Linked DNA regions of Homo sapiens: region 1 is linked to region 2. The links are contacts of gene promoters, found by promoter capture Hi-C in blood cells and fetal thymus (Javierre and others, 2016). All regions are on one chromosome and are shown on one strand. The core of a region is centred on a gene start or on the middle of the fragment in contact, and the rest is flanking DNA. Distances in the headings are between cores, read along the strand shown.

Region 1 (2,700 bases), core at 116-2,615, 350 kb before region 2:
ATTCCCTCCCAAATCACCTTTTTGTACATTTGTCTCTAGCTTCCAAGTTATATACATTGCACATGATAGTCCCACTTCAGTAAAATGGTAGTCTTTAGTGTATTTACTACTTATATTGTTTAGTTTGGTTGCTTCCTAAGACCTCCAAGGATTCTGATTCTATTCAATAAAGTTTCAAATTCACAAAGTATTTCTGATTGCTTCTTAAGTACTGGCATATGTAATCTCTAGTTTTTACTCAAAATGTCCTGTATCCAACCCTTTGTGTTTAGTATTACTTTTTTTTTTTTTTTGACACGGAGTCTCACTCTGTCACCCAGGCTGGAGTGCAGTGGCACAATCATAGCTCACTGCAACCTCCACCTCCCAGGTTCAAGCGATTCTCCTATCTCAGCCTCCCAAGTAGCTGGGGTGACAGGCACGCACCACCACGCCCAGCTAATGTTGTAGTTTTATAAGATAAAGTTTCACCATTTTGGCCAGGCTGGTCTCAAACTCCTGACTTCAGGTGATCCGCCTGCCTTGGCCTCCCAAAGTGCTGGCATTACAGTTGTGGGCCACCATGCCCAACCTAGCATTACTTTTCTTTTTTCCCTTCAAAGTTAAAAGTCCATTTAGTTTGGGGCCTTGTCTACTCTTTTTCTTGCTAGATGAATAGCAAAGGAACAGAAAAAGAACTTTAAAAACTAATAATTTTCAGATAATGACTTTTAAAGGAGAAAAATCGGCTGGGCACAGTGGCTCACGCCTGTAATCCCAGCAATTTGGGAGGCTGAGGCAGGTGGATCACAAGATCAGGAGTTCGAGACCAACCTGACCAACATGGTGAAACCCCGTCTCTACTAAAAATACAAAAAAATTAGCTGGGTGTAGTGATGCACGCCTGTAATCCCAGCTACTCAGGAGGCTGAGGCAGGAGAATTGCTTGACCCCAAGAGGCCGAGGTTGCAGTGAGCCGAGATCACGCCACTGCACTCCAGCCTGGGTGACAGAGCAAGACTCCCTCTGTCTCAAAAAAAAAACAAACAAAAAAACAAAACAAAAACAAAAGGAGGAAAATCGAGAGATATTAAAATTAAAGTTGGTAGTAAGAAATGGTTCTAACTGGATGGCAACTAAGCTGTGTGCAGGGATGCCAAAGAAATATGATTGATATTTTTCTTGGGGAGGAATAGTTGGGCAATAAATGGCTTAACCCTTCATTCAACTTGAACATTTTGTTCTAGTAGAAAGTGAAATAGTTTATTCATCAATCACAGAAAATATTATTTAAAAATCATGCAGGAATGGATAACCAATGTCTAGAAAGTAGGTCAATATAGGACTTCAGCACAATTTTTGAGGACAAAGTCCACAAAGTAGTAACACAATACCTGTAGGACTGACCTGATTCCCAATTGCGGCTTGTTTTTGTTACTTTCTCACTGCTGTTACTCAAAAATCTAAACAGCAAGTAGAAATTTGTACCAAGAAAAGCTGCACTTGGCAGGGAAAACATAATTCAAATTGGAGCAGGCTCCTGATAATACATATCAAAGGCCTTAAAGTTACACATATCCCTATGACAATTATCCTAGCCAATGACAGCAGTGACAGGCTCCAAGAATTTAGGTCAAAAACTCATGACAGTATCATTCTTACAAGTCAACTAATTTTACCATTAAAAAAAAAATCTCATTCTAACATCAAGAAAAATCTTGATGTCTCAGGAAATCGTCTCCCCTCACTCATCTGAAAAAAGCAGTATATCCCATCTTGGTAGCCGACTTTATTCACTCAACTTGATTATACACTATTTTAGGCAGGTGTGTTTGGTTTTTTGGTTTTGGGGGGTTTTTTGTGCAGATTTCTTTTGTGTGTGTATGGTCTTTTTACAAAGTTCAACTGCATCCATATGGGATGATTCACTAGTTGAGGATATTCAAGATATGCAAGTATTAGAAGCATTAATAATAGAAGAGCCTCTGAAGTGACTCATTTCAAGGAGGCTTTAGAAAGATGCGGTCACTTAATCTGGTAAAAAATCACGTTCTGGGAGGGATTTTCAGAAATTTCAGCATATAGAGAAGTGACAAGGATAATAAGCAGTACAACATACTTGAGCTTGGGTTTTGAAATCAGATATGGGCTTGAATTATCTGACCGAATTACTCTGTGTAAGTTTCTCCATCTGAAAAGTAGGCCAAATGAGAAGAGCTCCTTGTAAGAGGAATAAGAATATATAAGTGAACCATGGGATATCTGCACCATGCCGGGCACTTTGAATGTATCATCTCATCTAACTGCCATGCTCTATGAGACAGCTATTAGTCCTATTTCACAGACGAAGTAAGGTTAAAAGGTTAAATTCCCAGAGGTTACATGTCTAGTAAGAGACAGCCAAGATTCACTCTCAATAATAGAATTCTAAAATATGCATTTCTCTTAAACCAGGATTCTTTAAATGTTATTAACCAAGAGCATTTTTCTAGGTTTTTAAATAGGATTATCATAAATGTACACTAAACAACTTCCTCCACATCAAAAGTCACTATAAAACATTCTCAATAACCTTCATAGTAACTTGAAACAAGCCAATTTAGGAAATTACCAAACCACCTAATTGGATATATTATATAAATTTATTTGTTCGTTGTAATTTTTTGCTTTTCTGATAATCATTATCCCACAAAATACACATTCCAAGACTGAGGAAAGTGA
Region 2 (2,808 bases), core at 96-2,595:
CCTGGTGGCACGTTATTTAAATTTACAATTAGGAATATCTCCTTAATGGATAATTTACAAATTTATAATTAGGAATACCTCCTATTATTCTTACAATAATTCTAAGAAATTTTAAGGGTAAAAAAAATATGGGACACAGAAACATTTGTGAACCTTCAGTTCCTGAACCAATTTAAAAAACAAAAAACAAAGAAACCAGGCTAAGCTCAAATCAGAGTGCCTCAATACCCAACGTTAATTTCACTACATCTCCCTTCCAAACACAATATGCCTGTTCCCGATCTGGGAGTCGGTTCAAGTTTTCAGGTGAAGACTAACGACAGACAGCGAAACCCCCAAACGCGCGTTTTTAAACTCTGAGGGGCAAAGTCAGTCACACCCACTAGCAGGGCCCGGCGGGGGGCGGGAGCCCCTTCCCAGCTCGGGACCTCCGGCCAGTCTGGGCGCCCCCGCCAAGAGCTCGCAGCCCAGGCTCCCGCGCCAAGGACGGCCTGAGGGATGCCACAGGTGGCCCGGAGGGCTCGTTCCCCAACTGGCAGTGAGGCCCTAGCCCACCCCCGCCGCCCAGAGGCCGAAGGTGTCCTGCAGCCTCCACGTGGGCACCTCGAAGCCTAGGGAAGTTCCTAACAGGGCTCAGGTGGCCCCTCGGGTCCGTTAGCCTGGCGCGCGGCGTCGGCCCGGGGCAGCGACTCCAGCCTTGCCTCGGGGCCGGGTCCCCGGAGGGGCGTCGGGAAGCCGGTGGGCGGAGGAGCCCGGGTACGGGCGGCTCCTCGGCCCCGCCGGAGCAGCCAGCCCCACATCCCTCCCGGGACCCCTCGGGGCACCGCGGGCCGGCGCCGCCCCAGCCCCCCGCGCGGCCGGGTCTCCGGGACAACAGCCGCCGTGTCCGAACGGGCCCGCGCCCCCGCGGCCGGCGCCCACCTGTCCCGGGGGTCGATCCAGCTGGTCCTCCTGGTGTTGTGGTCAATGTAGAAGACCTTGCCGTCGTAGTCCCTGGCCTCCTCCCAGCCCCGGGGCAGCGGCAGCTGACCGCTCCCGGCCCTCCTAGGCATGGTCGGCGGCCTCGCCGGCGAGCGGCGCCTCCATAGGTACCGGGCGCGGGACGCGGCGGGAACGCGGCTGCCGGGCTAGGCTGCCAACCCGCGACGCGGGCGCCGGCGAGGGGCTGAGGGGCGCAGGGCGCGGGGCGCGGCGGAACCACGCGCGGGAGGTGCCTCAGGAAACGCTGTTCGCGGCCCCGCTGCGGATCAGTCCACCATGTCTGCGTCGGAGCCGGCGAGCGAACCCTCCTCCCCCTCGCCGCCGCTGCCTCCGCCTCTTCCTCCTCCTCCGCCCCGTCCCCCTCTGGCCGCCGAGGGTCGCGGCGCCCAGGCTGCCGGAGCCGCCGCCGTCTGGGCTCGGATCCGGGAAGCTGCGGCGCTGCCGCGGCAGCGGCGGGCCCCTCATTTGCATGCGATTAGCATGCGCCCGCCCGCCTCATCTGCATGCGCATTCCTCGCGCCGCATTCCTGAGCTTAACCCCGCCGCTGCCGGCGTCGCCGCACCAGCTCGGACGCACTGCCCCGCGGGGCCGCGGCTCCAGGTGGGAGGAAGGCGGGCGAAGGAATGTGCGGCCAGCTCCCTCCCCTTGACCCCAGATAGCTCCCCTGGGCCAAACGCCGAGAGGTTTTAGAGTTTCTGGACGGGGAAGATTGCAAAAGTCTCCGCAACCTTCTCAACCTCTTTCGTCTTCTAGGGAAACCACAAAACTTTCGAGAGGAAAGGGGTGGCGGGCGGGGAGCTCTCCTCCGGAGAAAAAACCTCAACAAGCGGAGAGGGCACAAAGGCTCCCCACGCCGCGCCCCGAGCCCCTCCGGCACCCCAAGGGCGGTCCGGGGTGGTGGGAAAGCGCCAAGCCCTGGGAGTGCGTCGGTGGGTCCGGGACGGCGGGGCCTCCGCCAGGGCTCCTGGCCCTCGATGACCTCGGCTGAGACCGCGAGCCGCGCGGCGGAAAGCGGAGGAACTCCCGTCCGGCCCTGTAGCCGCCCGCACCGCGCCCCGTCACCCGCCGCCCCTTCGCGTCCGGGCGCTCCAGCCGCGGGGCCCCGGAAGCTCCTGGTCCCTGGCCTCCCCTGCTTGGTTCGGGGCGGTTGGCCGTGGACGCGCCCCGACTCTAGTCCCTTCCGTCCAGCCGCCCGCCCCAGGATGTCCCCCCACCGCAGCCCCGCCGTGGCCAGGAGGTGTGGGCGGCCACGCCGGAGGGACCCACGGCGGCGCCGGACGCCCGCCCTTCCTAGGCCCTGGCCCGGCCGGGGTGGGCCGGGACGTTCCCTGTTGCATAGGCATTTATTTATTCAGCAGCTACTACGTACGTGCTGGCCCGCACTGCCGAGGGACCGGACGCCTGCCCCAGGCGGGACAATGCCGGGTGCAGCGCTGGCGGGGCCTGGACGCCAAGCTTCAGGGTCCCCAGCCCCTCAGTCAGAGGGGGCGCCTCCCAGGCCCTGGACTCCTCTCCAGCCGGGTCTACACCACCGTCCCCCGTCATCTTCTTCTGGGTTACTGAGCAGCTTCTTTTAAAATAGCAACACCGAGGAAGGCCCCGAAGCCCAGTCTTGCACCTCGTGGTGTGAAGTCGTTTAATCCTGCCCGCTAATGCGTAAGGACTTTCCACCGTGTGCAGGACTCCGCGCTGGGCAGGGGCTCTCGCAGGGTTTGAACCGACCTCCGCCTCCCCTGCGGGTTCACAGGCCTGCGAGGAAGTCGCGTGAAGGAGATTCGCTACTGTGTGAGGCTGGCCTGCGCGGCGTGGGCAGTAGCTGTCCGGGG

Evidence for each region. The method cuts DNA at HindIII sites, captures the fragments that hold promoters and counts their contacts. A CHiCAGO score of 5 or more calls a contact.
Region 1: a fragment that was not itself captured here is called in contact with the fragment with the promoter of WWC2-AS2 in region 2 in 1 of 17 cell types (monocytes); the score reaches 5.2 in monocytes.

The regions. Positions count from the first base shown.
Region 1 is chr4:183,448,967-183,451,666 of GRCh38, reverse strand. It overlaps CDKN2AIP (CDKN2A interacting protein), which reads right to left. Exons shown (of 3, transcript NM_017632.4): 3 at 2,603-2,700. Among named protein-coding and RNA genes, the nearest start is that of CDKN2AIP, 5.7 kb to the right of the region's middle. The HindIII fragment of the contact is 4,907 bases long and covers 1-2,700 here.
Region 2 is chr4:183,097,736-183,100,543 of GRCh38, reverse strand. WWC2-AS2 (WWC2 antisense RNA 2) reads left to right here and starts at 1,345. Exons shown (of 1, transcript NR_024008.1): 1 at 1,345-2,808. It overlaps WWC2 (WW and C2 domain containing 2), which reads right to left and starts at 1,287. Exons shown (of 23, transcript NM_024949.6): 1 at 922-1,287. The coding sequence starts at 1,052. RefSeq lists a silencer at 2,234-2,528 and an enhancer at 2,234-2,528. The HindIII fragment of the contact is 3,980 bases long and covers 1-2,439 here.